3 separate regions of the Homo sapiens genome follow, and regions 1 and 2 are each linked to region 3. The links are contacts of gene promoters, found by promoter capture Hi-C in blood cells and fetal thymus (Javierre and others, 2016). All regions are on one chromosome and are shown on one strand. The core of a region is centred on a gene start or on the middle of the fragment in contact, and the rest is flanking DNA. Distances in the headings are between cores, read along the strand shown.

Region 1 (3,476 bases), core at 561-3,060, 840 kb after region 3:
GCGTCCCAGCGCGGCTCCCCATACCCCAAAGATGGACCCTCAATTCTTCCGCAAGGCATTCGCGGCCCCTGCTCATCTCAGCCCCACCACTCTGGACGGCCCACTTCCCTTCGGCTGCTCCACGTGTCCCTACAATCCGAGCCCACGGACCAAGCCTCCTTGGAGTGTCCAGCTGCCCAAAGCGGCCACCGCTATGGCTATGAAATAGAGGCAGCATCGCACTCTTGATAGAAATGAGAAAATTGAGACCCAGATCGGGTAGAGGTCTTCTGTTTGGTGGCAAGGCCAGAATGCCAAGCCCAAGGGCAGCCGCACAGCTTTCCCCCAGCCCCCCACCCTCCCCGGAAGGGACAAGCACCTCTAATGCCCAAACCAGGGCCGGCCATCAAGGCCCACCGTCCCCTGTTGCCCAGTCCAAACTCCCAGTCCAGAAAGTGGAACCCTAGGAGGGGACGGAGTGAAAAAATACAGCCAGGCCCACCAGGCTCCCGGTTCCCCTCGCCGCCCCGGGGACTGCGCTAGGAGGGGCGTTGGTGTAGCCGAAGCGCTCCAACTACGCGCACCTTCCCGAATCGCCCGCCAGGTAGGGGTGAACAAACACGCCAGGGAAATACAGCAGTGTGGACCCGAGCCCCTCGAGGGTCCTCCAATACTATGAAGTTCCCCCGCCCAGACTCAGGCCCCAACCCGCGCTCCTAGCCTCGCCCTCCCCCTCGTTAAAATACAGAGAACGCAGAGAAAACGTGCCGGGCTCCCCCCATCCTGGCCCCACGCCAGGTGCTCTGCCGACCTCTGGGGAGAATCCGCGCGGCCACCCCGGCGGCGGCGACGCGGTTCCTCCTCCATTTTCACAGATAAGGAAACTGAGGCTGGGGGAGGGGGAGAACCCAGAACCCCAGAGCCGGATGCTCCAACCACGGTGCCCACCGCCCAGACCAGAACGCAAAAGAAAAAAAAAAAAACGGAACAAGGCCCAGAAAGGGAGAGAGGTGGTCTGCCCAGGAGTCTCAATCCCGCCCGCAGACCTCGCTGGGCCCCCGGAGCCCCCGCCACTGCCGCCGGGGCGGCCATCCGCTCGCCGCCCGACCGCGTGGCCGCCACGCCCCCCGCGCGCGCCCCACCCACCGAGGCCCCGCCCTGCCGGCCGGCGCGGCGGCGGCCCGGGCGCGCCCCCCTCCCCGCCCCCCACGCGCCACGCAGTTTCGGGGTCCTGGCGGGGGAGGGGTCTCAGGCGGCCGCCCCCGCAAGGGCCGGGATCGCGGCTGCACTCACCTGTGTGCGTCCGCAGGTGCGACTTTAGGTGCGAGGACTTGTAGTAGGCTTTGGCGCAGTCCGGGAAGGGACAGCGGTGGCTCTTGGCGGCGGCGGAGGGCGCGGCGCCGGGGGCGCGGCCCGAGGACGGGGACGAGGCGGCTGAGGAGGAGGAGGCGGGCGAGGCGCCCCCCGGGGCGGCTCCGGGTCCGCCGCGCAGGTCGGCCAGGATGCTGGCGGCCAGCAGGTGGGGCGCCGCGGCGGCGCCGGGGCCCGGGCCAGAAGCGGCGGGGGGCGGCGGGGGTGGCCCCGGGGTCCCGGGTGAGGCGGCCTCGCGGCGCGCCGCGCGCACATCCAGGCCGGCGGCGGGGCCCGCGCCCTCGGGGCCGGGCCGCCCGCGGTGCACCACGGCGCCCGAAGAGATGGCCATGAGCACGTCGGCGGCGAAGTAATCCACGCACGCCACGGCCGCCGACATGCCGAGCAAGGGCGCGCGGCGCGGCGGGCGGAGCGGAGGCGGCGGGAGCGGCGTCCGTCCGGCCGGCGGCGGCTGCTCGAGTGCGGGAGGCGGAGGAGGAGGAGGAGGAGGCCCGGCGCGCGCCGCCGCCGACGCCCGCGCTCGGCCTGCCCCGCCCCGCCTGACGCGTCCTGACGCACCGGAGCCCGCGGGGGCGGCCACAGCCCGCCCCGCCCGGAGGACGCCCCCTCGGGGCGCCGCAGCCACGCCCCCCGCCCGGCGCGCCCTCCACCACTCTCCGAGCCGCGCGCGGCCGCCGGGGGCGGGGCTCGGGCCGGAGGAACCCGCCCCCCGGCGCGCCCACTCCGGCCTCCGCCAGCGCCTAGCGTCTTAGGCCCGGAGCGCGCCTTCTCCGCGCTAGGGTGCAAGGCCGGGAGCCCCGCCCCCTCCCGGCGCGCCCCACTCCAGCGCGCGCCCCCGTACCCTTTCCCGGAGCACCACCCCCTCAAGCCGGGGCGGGAGGCCGAGGACCCCGCCCCCTCTCCGGCACGCCCCTCCTTCCGAGAGCGCGCCCCGCCCCATCCCGGCACGCCCCTCCCTCCCAGAGCGCGCCCCGCCTCCTCGCTGGCGCGCCCACCCCACGCCGGGGCGCGCGGCCGGCGGGAGCCCGCCCCCTCCCCGGATGCTTCCCTCCTGGCCCCGGGCGCGCCCCCGTTCGCGATGGAGGAGGGCTCCGATCCCCACGTGGCCGGGGTTGGAGGGGTGCGGAAGCGGCCGGCCCCGCCCCCAGGCCACGTGCGCGACCCTTCCCCCCTCTTCTCCCGGCCTGGGGCCCTGCTTTGACCCCGCACTCAGGCATCTGCTCGTCCTCTTCTCTGGGGTTCCCCCTCGCCGCTCACAGAGCCCCTCGGAGCCTCCCGGCCGAGACACCCGGTATCCCGCGCCCGCGGCGGGGCCCGGGAGGGTGGGGCAAGGCTGCGTTCGTTCCTCTTTTTGCACCCAGTTCCGGAGCTACTAGAGCGCGCCCCACTGGGGGTGGGGAGGGCCGGTTGGGTCCCAGAGGGTCGGGATAGGGGGACGGGAAGAGGGGGCCGAACGCAAAGGGCTGGGCTGGGCTGGGGGCGCCTGAGCGGGTCAGAGGTTCCCCGCCCTGCTGGGACACCGGGGTCCGGGGCTTCTCTTTCCATTCCCAGGCATCGATTCTTGGGGTTCGGACGGGAAAACTGAGGCCAGGTATTCGGGCCTCCCGGCCGCGAGGACGTCCAGGCCAACTTGTTAAATATTAGGGGGGACACCAGGGACGCGGATGGCCCAGTTCGCAGGCCCAAGGCGGCGGGGGCACAGAAACTGGGCGGCCCCCCTCGGTCGCGACCGCGCTCCCGCCCCTTCCCAGCTCCGGCGGGGCGGCGGGGACTGCGCAGTGGCCGGAGCTGCCTCCAGGGGGCGGAGCTGCTTTGGCCTGCGGCGACCTCCTGCTCTGGGTTGGGCATGGACAGAGGCCCTGACCCGATTCGGGGCTTCTCTAGCCCCATCCCCCGCCCACCTGCAACCCCAGCTGACGCCCTGAGGCTGACCACTGTTCCCTGGGTCGCCCGCACTGCGCCTGGGCTCAACCATGCTTGGTTAAGCCAGCTGAGCCCTCCCTGGGCCCCAGTAAGCCCACTCTACGTGGCTGGACAGAGCGGAGCCGAGAGAGAGGAGGTTCAGCGAAGTGTGGGAGGGTACAGGGTGCCCTGCACACACTTGCCCCTCTCCTAGGCCTGGGCTC
Region 2 (3,826 bases), core at 1,288-3,787, 630 kb after region 3:
CCATCGCTGAAGTATTCAGCAAACACTCTCCCCTGAAAACCTTCCCGTGAACTGTGGAGGCAAAGGGGTGTCGGGGGCTGGGCGGGGGTCCTGGCTCACCATGCTGAAGTCCAGGAGGTCACTGAGCTCCTTGTCTGTGCCCACAGGCGCCATCCTCTGCGGCTGGTTCATTCTCCTGGGGCCAGGGCGGGCACCTCAGGCCTGGAAACCCTGCTTGGTGGATGTGGGGACAGATGGACAGGGAGAAACAGGGAGGGGAGAAGAGTTGTGAGTGGTCAAAGCACAGAGTGCTAAAAGCCACCTAAAAAACCCTCAACCGCCCTGGGGTCTGAGTTCCAGCAGAGCCCTGGGGGCACGGGGAGCCCTGGGAGCAGGCGCAGGGAAGCTGGAATTCCAGAGTCTAGGTCCCTGCAGAGTCCTCCCCAGAGACCACAGGGAGTCTGAAAAATGGGGGGAGGGTGTGCAAATATAAACTCCCTAACTCCCCCAGGGAACACCAGGGCATCAAGTTGCCAAGTTTAAACTGCACGCAGGGCAGCCAGAACCTCTCCTTTCTCCAACTCTCTCATTTCCAACCAACCCCGGGCTTCCTCTGAGGCCCCCTACCCCCGGGAAAGGGAGGAACAGCCCGATCCTACCCCGCCCCGAGGGAAATTTGGTGATTCCCCCCTCCCCCAGCAGATGGCACAGCCCGTTGAAGACCAGGTCGCCCCCAAATTCAACATGAAGGAAATCCACAAGTCAGAAAACCACGAAACTCTTTTACAAGCTTCAAGACTTAAAGTGCCGGGGGTGGGGGGGACGCGCATCCTATGCAGGGACCAGCAAAGCTTTCCTCCACCCTCAATCTCCCTCCCCCCAAGAAAACCCCAACAGTATTCAGGAAAGAAAAAAAAAACAGCCCTAGATTGCTTTACTGTCGCGATGTATCCGGGAATTATTTTTAAGCAAAACTTTGACAACATCCCTTGCCTGCCCTCCATGAGCGGGGAGAGCGTCTCAAGACCAGGGTGCTCCCGCGTGGTCCCAGGGGGCTCCATTCTAAGATGGGGGATGGGGGATCCACCTGCCAAGACCCATTCCACCCCCAGAAAAAGGTACAGAGAAAAATTTCCATTCCAAAGAAATGCACTCCAGGCCCCTCCAGTCTCGACTTTCCCCAGGGGTCCCCAGGTGGGGACGGGGGCAGCCCGGGAGACACCTCCGAGGCTGGGGGTGGGGAGGAGCCTCCGAGGTCGAGGGAGACCCAACTTCAGAAGCAGAGAAATCCCCTCTTTGTCTGCCAACTGGAGGCCGGGTGTGAAGCGGGCGCCCCAGCGCAGCCCCTCCCCCGCTCAGTTTTTTTCTTTTTTGGAGGGCGTGTGAAACTGACTTTTTTTGAGGACTACGAAACCGCACTTTTTTGTGGGGTAGCTGAAACCGATTTTAAGACAGACTTAGTTGGGGGGGTGGCGAGCTAAAACGGGCATTCTACGGGAGCTGGAAGACTTCTGGGGCGTCCCAAGGACTTTGAGAGACTTGGAGAATGTTTGAAGCCACTTTGCACGGCGCCGAAGGCGGGGGGCGCGCTGGAACGCCTTTTTCCCGGGGGGAGGCGGCCCGGGAAGCCGGACCCCCCTCCCCCCGCAGCCGGTGCAGGCGGTGCGGCCCGGGAGCCTTTGAAGCTCGCAGCGCGGCCGCCGCCTCGCCCCGCATTAACGCGGAGCAGATGTTACCCGCGCGCCCCCCCCCGGCCCGCCCGGCCCCGACCAGCGCCTGCAGCGCGCGGCACCTTCCCCGCGCAGACAAAAGGACGTCCCTCCCGCGCGCTCCCCACCCCAAACTCCGGCGCCCGGGCCGGGCCCCCCTCTACCCGAGAAAGGGGGCGCCCCGGGGTCCCCGTGCGCCCGGGCTGGGGGGGACGGTCCTCGCGCCTAAGTTGCACAGCCCGTCCGGCGCCCCCCGCGCCCCCGCCCGGGGCTGCTTAAAGTTTCCCGAAGTGCCCGGCCCGACGGGGGCGACGCGGGCCTGGCGAGCTCCGGGCTCCTCCACGTCGCCGCCCCCCCGGCGCCGCGCGAAGTTGGAGAACAATGACTCCCGGGCCGCGGGGCGCCCCCCGACACCGCCCCCGCCCCAACTTCCTCCGCGCCCCCCCCCAACAAGCGCGCGCGGGGCGGGCCGGGGTTCCCTGGGCACAAAGCACGGGGGTACCGGGCGCGCCCCCCGCCCCCCGCCGGGCTCACCTGCTGGGCGCGGCCGGGCACGCGGCGCGTGGGGGGGGGCGGCGGCATGAAGCGGGGGGGCCCCCCCCCGGACAAAGGTGCGTCGCGGCCGGGCCCCCGAGGGTCGCGCGTGGGCGGCGGCGGCGGCGCGCGTGGCCCGGGCCCCTCCCACCCCCGCGTGGCCCGTCCCGCGGGGCCCGTGCGCGCGGCCGGCCGGGGCGCCCCTGGGGCAGCGGCGTGCGCGGTGCCCGCGGTGCCCGCCGCCGCGTCGGCTCCGGCCCGCTACGCCCGCAGCCGCCGCCGCTGCCTCATCTTCCTGCGGCGGGAGACATGTTCCGCCCCCCGCCCGCGCCGCCCCGCCCCGCCCCGTGCAGGCCCCGCCCCTGCCCCGCCCCCGAGTGCCCCGCCCGGCGGCCCACGCGGATCCCTCCGCCACCTCCGGGCGGCTCGGGCCCGAACGCCCTAGCTCGGCCTCTCGAGCACCCTCGTGAGGACCCCGAATCCCGTGAGGTCCAGAGCCTGGGAGCGGGGACGCGCAGAGGAGGCGGTCGGGCCACGGCGCGGGGAGAAATCACGGACTATCCCCGTCCGCGGAAGCACACACGAGCTGTGCGCTTAGTCCATGACGCAAGCGAGTAAGGCCCGTGAGATTGAAAGCTAAGGCAGAGCAGTCTGGTCAATCGGAAGCCGCGAAAGTCTGATGGGCGGGGATCCTAGCCATTCGTGGTGAGGCCCCGCCTCCTTTCTTCTCGGCCCCGCCCCTCAGCAGAGGCGGGACTCTGCGAGCGAGAGGCCGCGAGAGGCGGCCGGGGTGGGTCCTGGAGTTTTGTTCTCAGGTTGGCGTGGCCGCCCGCGCGGAGCCTTCTGCTTGGTTATATTTGCGTTCCTCGGGCCGGCCCCGCGTGCTGAGTGGTGCGAGCGGGTATCACGGCCCCGAGGGGGCTACGTCAGACCCATTTTCCCGGCGGGAAAACCGACTCTGGCTCCGGCTCTGGGTCAGAGAGCCCCGCGGGGAGTCTCAGCGGTGCCTTTGCCGACTTGAGTCTCCGTCTCGGCATCTGTGAATTTGGACCTGACTTTGGACAGAACTCAGGCCAGATCTGGCTTCCTGATTCTTAGTAGTCCGTGTCTACATTTTAGTAAAAAGTGACCCCGCCTAGGATCGGGCGCCGTGGCTCCTGCCTGTGATCCCAGCGCTTTGAAGGAGGCCGAGGCGGGAAGATCGCTTGAGGCCAGGAGTTCGAGAACAGCCTGAACAACATAGTGAAACCCCCCCCACCCACACCCGTCTCTAAAAATATTTAAAATAATTTAAAATAATAATTTAAAAAGTTGACCGGACGCGGTGGCCCACGCTTGTATTCCCAGCACTTTGGGAGGCCAAGGCGGGCAGATCACCTGAAGTCAGGAGTTCGAGACCTCTCTGGCCAACACGGTGAAACCCCATCTCTACTAAAAATACAAAAATTAGCCGGGCATGGTGGCGGGCACCTGTAGTCCTAGCTACTCGGGAGGCTGAGGCAGCAGAATCGCTTTCACCCGAAAGGCGGAGGTTGCAATGAGCCGAGAGCACGCCATTGTACTCCAGCCTGGGCAACAAGGACGAAACTCCGTCTCAAAATAAA
Region 3 (3,685 bases), core at 647-3,146:
CTAAAAATACAAAAATTAGCTGGGTGTGGAGGTGTGCCTGTAGTCCCAGCTGCTGGGGAGGCTGAGGCAGGAGAATGGCGTGAACCCAGGAGGTGGAGCTTGCAGTGAGCCAAGATTGCGCCACTGCACTCCAGCCTGGGTGACAGAGCGAGACTCCGTCTCAAAAAATAATAATAAAATAAAATAAAAAGAACATGAAGTATTTGCTTCCCTGATGGCACCAGCCACACTTCCAGTGCTCAGTAGCCCCATGGCCAGTGGCTACAGTAGTAGATAGTGCCACATTGAAAATTTCCTTCATCTCAGAATAACAGAAATGGTCAGCACTGGTCTAAAATGACATGGGTCGGCCAGGTGCAGTGGTTCAAGCCTGTAATCACAGTACTTTGGGAGGCTGAGGCGGGTGGATCACCTGAGGTCAGGGGTTCGAGACCAGCCTGGCCAACATGGTGAAACCCCATCTCTACTAAAAATAAAATAAAATAAAATAAAATAAAATAAAATAAAATAAAATAAAATAAAATGTGTCAAACTCCTATTGATGCTTCAAAACCCCATCTCCCTTGCCTCCTCTTACATGCAGCTTTCCTTGATTCCTCCGACAGAGCCCCAACTCTCCCTCCAGTTCCTCCAGCCCCAAGCCTCTCATTCTGTCCTGTACTTGCTCATATAGGGAAACAGGGTGGGCGGGGTGGGGGGGTTCCGCCTGTGCTGGCTCATACAGGGAATCCGGGTTGGGGGTTGGTCTGTGCCAGCTCTGTCTTCCTGGGCATGGGCTGGGCCAGAGCTAAGGTCTCCTGAGAGCCAGCACTGCCTGGCAGGAGACTGTCCCGGAGACTTTTTAATAATTTATTATTATTAGGGTTTTTTTGTGTTTTTTTTTTTTGTTTTTTTTTTTAAGACGGAGTCTTGCTCTGTCGCCCAGGCTGGAGTGCAGTGGCGCGATCTCGACTTACTACAACCTCCGCCTCCTGGCTTCAAGTGATCCTCCCACCTCAGCCTCCTCAGTAGCTGGAATTACAGGCATGTGCCCCCATGCCCGGCTAATTTTTGTATTTTTAGTAGAGACGGAGTTTCGCCATGTTAGCCAAGCTGGTCTGGAACTCCTGACCTCAAGTGATCCGCCCGCCTCGGCCTTCCAAAGTGCTGGGATTGCAGGCGTGAGCCACTCGGATTTTTATTTTTATTTATTTATTTATTTTTAGAGAGAGGCTCTTGCTCTGCTGCCCAGGCTGGAGCGTCATGTTGTGATGATAACTCACTGCAGCTTCGACCTCTTGGGCTCAACGGATCCTCCCCCTTCGGCCTCAGCCTCCCAAGTAGCTAGAACTCCAGGTGCAAGCTACCGCACCCAGTAAGAATCCTATTCTCTTTTGGACTGACAAACTCCTACTCATCCAACAAAGCCCCAGCTCCAATGGCCCCTTCTCTGAGGAACCTGCCCTGGTTCCCTGGTCCACCTCCCAGCTAGTAGAGTTCCCTGGGAAGGGGTTAGACGCCTCTAAGTGGCAGAGAGGGGCCCTCATTCCTGCCCCAAAGGTAGCCTTCTCCCCTCCCCTTTCTGGCAGAAGAGAAGTCTGAGATGGAGAAAGAGTGAGAGCCGCCCACGAGCTCTGAGCAGAGAGCCCGCAGGAGTGCCACGTCCCGGCGGCCTCGGCCCCTCCCTGCCTCAGTTTCCCGTGGCATCAAAGGGGGCGAGGGGCCCCTCCAGGCCTCTGGTGACGGGGGTGCTGTGCCCAGGCGGGGGTCCGGGGGCGACCGAGGGGGCTCAGGAAGTCCGCGGCCGCAGGAATTCGGCGCCTCCAGGCCTTATAAGGACATTTGCGCTCCGGGCCAATCAGCGGCGGGGGCGTGGCGCGCGGAGCCCGGCGCGTCCCAACCCCGCGCCAGCCCGGCGGTCCCGTCCCGTCCCGTCCTGTGCGGCCCCGTCCCGCCGCCCGCCCGCCAGCCATGAGCTCCACGCAGTTCAACAAGGGCCCCTCGTACGGGCTGTCGGCCGAGGTCAAGAACCGGGTGAGTGAGGGGCGCCCCTTGTCCCCCCGACAGCGCGGCCGTCGCACGCTCCGACCGGTGCAGGAGCCCCCAGGCGCCCCCGGCACCTCCCGGGCAGGGAGCTTGGAGACCCGGGGCGGACGGGCCCTTGTTCTCCCTGACGCCTGGTGGGGGGATGTCTGCGGGCACCCCCTGAGGCTCCCGCGAATCTTGGGGAGCACCCAGGTCTGAGATCTGGGGGACGAGTGACCCATTCCCCCCCCCAACATCTAGGGGTAGTTGGGTCTGACTTCGTCCCCTCGCCATGGCCCCAGGACCCCCACGTGTGAAGCCCCTGGCGCCCACTCAACCTTCGAGAAGGTCCGTTCAAGGTCCGACAACGCTCTGGGGGTCTGGGGGGGACCCCAGCAACCCCGTCATCTCCTGGCCACACTTCTGCTTTTGGGGCCTCTTAGCTTTGGGAGGGGAAGGGGCATGGCCGAGTGGTTTTTGAGAAGTGTTACCCCCCCACAAACAGGAATTTCCTGGCCTCTGGGACACCTTGGGGGTGTCTTGGGGGGAGGGGCGGTAGCCGCTTTGCACGGTCTTTGTCTCCCATCTGACTAATTTAAACGGATAACAAAGAGGTTCTCTGAAGGTGGCCCTGAGATATGTGGGGTTTTGCAGCCTCGAAAGAAGAGCTGGGGCCCGGCAGGGCGCGGGGGCTCACGCCCGTAATCCCAGCACTTTGGGGGGCGGAGCTGGGTGGATGGCTTGAGCCCAGCGAGTTCGAGACCAGTCTGGGCAACATGGCGAAACCCCATCTCTATAATTAAAAACAAGCCAGGGCTAGGGGAGACACTTTTTAAGAGAGCACTTGTGGTTCTAGCTCAGAGAGGACCAGACACTTCTGCAGGGTCACACAGCAGGGTCCTGGACAGGATTCCCAGGGAAAGTGGGGGGCGGGGGTTGTGATGCGAGACCCACGGACAGGACCGGGACCTGACCCTCCAGGACCTTCCAGCTGGAGGGGGGTGTCGTCCCCGCCCACCCCCTCCCCCGACGCCCACTGGGCACCTGGGAAGGTGTCCTTACAGCTGACTTCTGCAGGGGAAACTGCCTCTGCACGCTCTGAGGGCACCGGCCCTGCCAGCCCCAACAGCCACCTGCCCGGCGGCACTCCAGGGCCGGCAGACTGGAGGGAGAATTCCTGCTTCCCCGCTGTGAGCCCCTGCAAGCCTTCAGACCAGCTCTTGGCCAAAAAGGGAGGCTGAGGCTTGGGGTGGTCAAGGCCTGAGCCAGGGTCCCCAGCCCGGGGCTCACGACTCCTCCTTCAAGGGGCCATCTGCACCCTGCATTCATAGAGCCCCCCGTGCAGTGGGGTGGGCACCCTGCCGCACCCTGCATACAGCCGGCTAAGGGCACCGGTGTCCACAGGGACCCAGAGACGTCGTTCCAGCTGCCCAGGGCCACACAGCCCACAAGTGACAGGGCCAAGACCGGAACCCAGTACCTGCTGGGCCTGCGGAAGTGGGAGCGGGCACAGGAGGGTGGGGCGGCTTCCGGAGACGGGGTGGGGTGGGGTGGGGGCAGGTTGATACCTGCCCTGGCGGGGGTGAGGACAGAGGCTGGAAGAGCCGCTTAGCAGGCTCCCCGCGCAACCCTCAGTCTGTCCGTTTGGAGGGTGGGCGAGGCGTCGGCCAGCTTGCCAGGG

The links. The method cuts DNA at HindIII sites, captures the fragments that hold promoters and counts their contacts. A CHiCAGO score of 5 or more calls a contact.
Region 1: a contact is called between the fragment with the promoter of KLF16 here and the fragment with the promoter of CNN2 in region 3, in 2 of 17 cell types (non-activated CD4 T cells and naive CD8 T cells). The highest score is 6.0, in non-activated CD4 T cells.
Region 2: a contact is called between the fragment with the promoter of TCF3 here and the fragment with the promoter of CNN2 in region 3, in 3 of 17 cell types (total B cells, erythroblasts and naive CD8 T cells). The highest score is 9.0, in total B cells.

The regions. Positions count from the first base shown.
Region 1 is chr19:1,861,769-1,865,244 of GRCh38, forward strand. KLF16 (KLF transcription factor 16) reads right to left here and starts at 1,811. Exons shown (of 2, transcript NM_031918.4): 1 at 1,273-1,811. The coding sequence starts at 1,729. RefSeq lists enhancers at 1-239, 3,347-3,476, silencers at 1,054-1,223, 1,274-1,453, 1,784-2,883, 2,954-3,173 and a promoter at 1,700-2,904. The HindIII fragment of the contact is 13,147 bases long and covers 1-3,476 here.
Region 2 is chr19:1,650,078-1,653,903 of GRCh38, forward strand. It overlaps TCF3 (transcription factor 3), which reads right to left and starts at 2,538. Exons shown (of 19, transcript NM_003200.5): 1 at 2,223-2,538; 2 at 100-210. The coding sequence starts at 171. RefSeq lists silencers at 1,457-1,576, 1,557-1,779, 1,587-1,816, 1,907-1,986, 2,517-2,646 and 1 more and enhancers at 2,997-3,046, 3,167-3,276. The HindIII fragment of the contact is 10,400 bases long and covers 829-3,826 here.
Region 3 is chr19:1,024,712-1,028,396 of GRCh38, forward strand. It overlaps CNN2 (calponin 2), which reads left to right and starts at 1,897. Exons shown (of 7, transcript NM_004368.4): 1 at 1,897-2,013. The coding sequence starts at 1,951. RefSeq lists an enhancer at 823-1,554 and silencers at 1,545-2,184, 3,674-3,685. The HindIII fragment of the contact is 13,555 bases long and covers 1-3,685 here.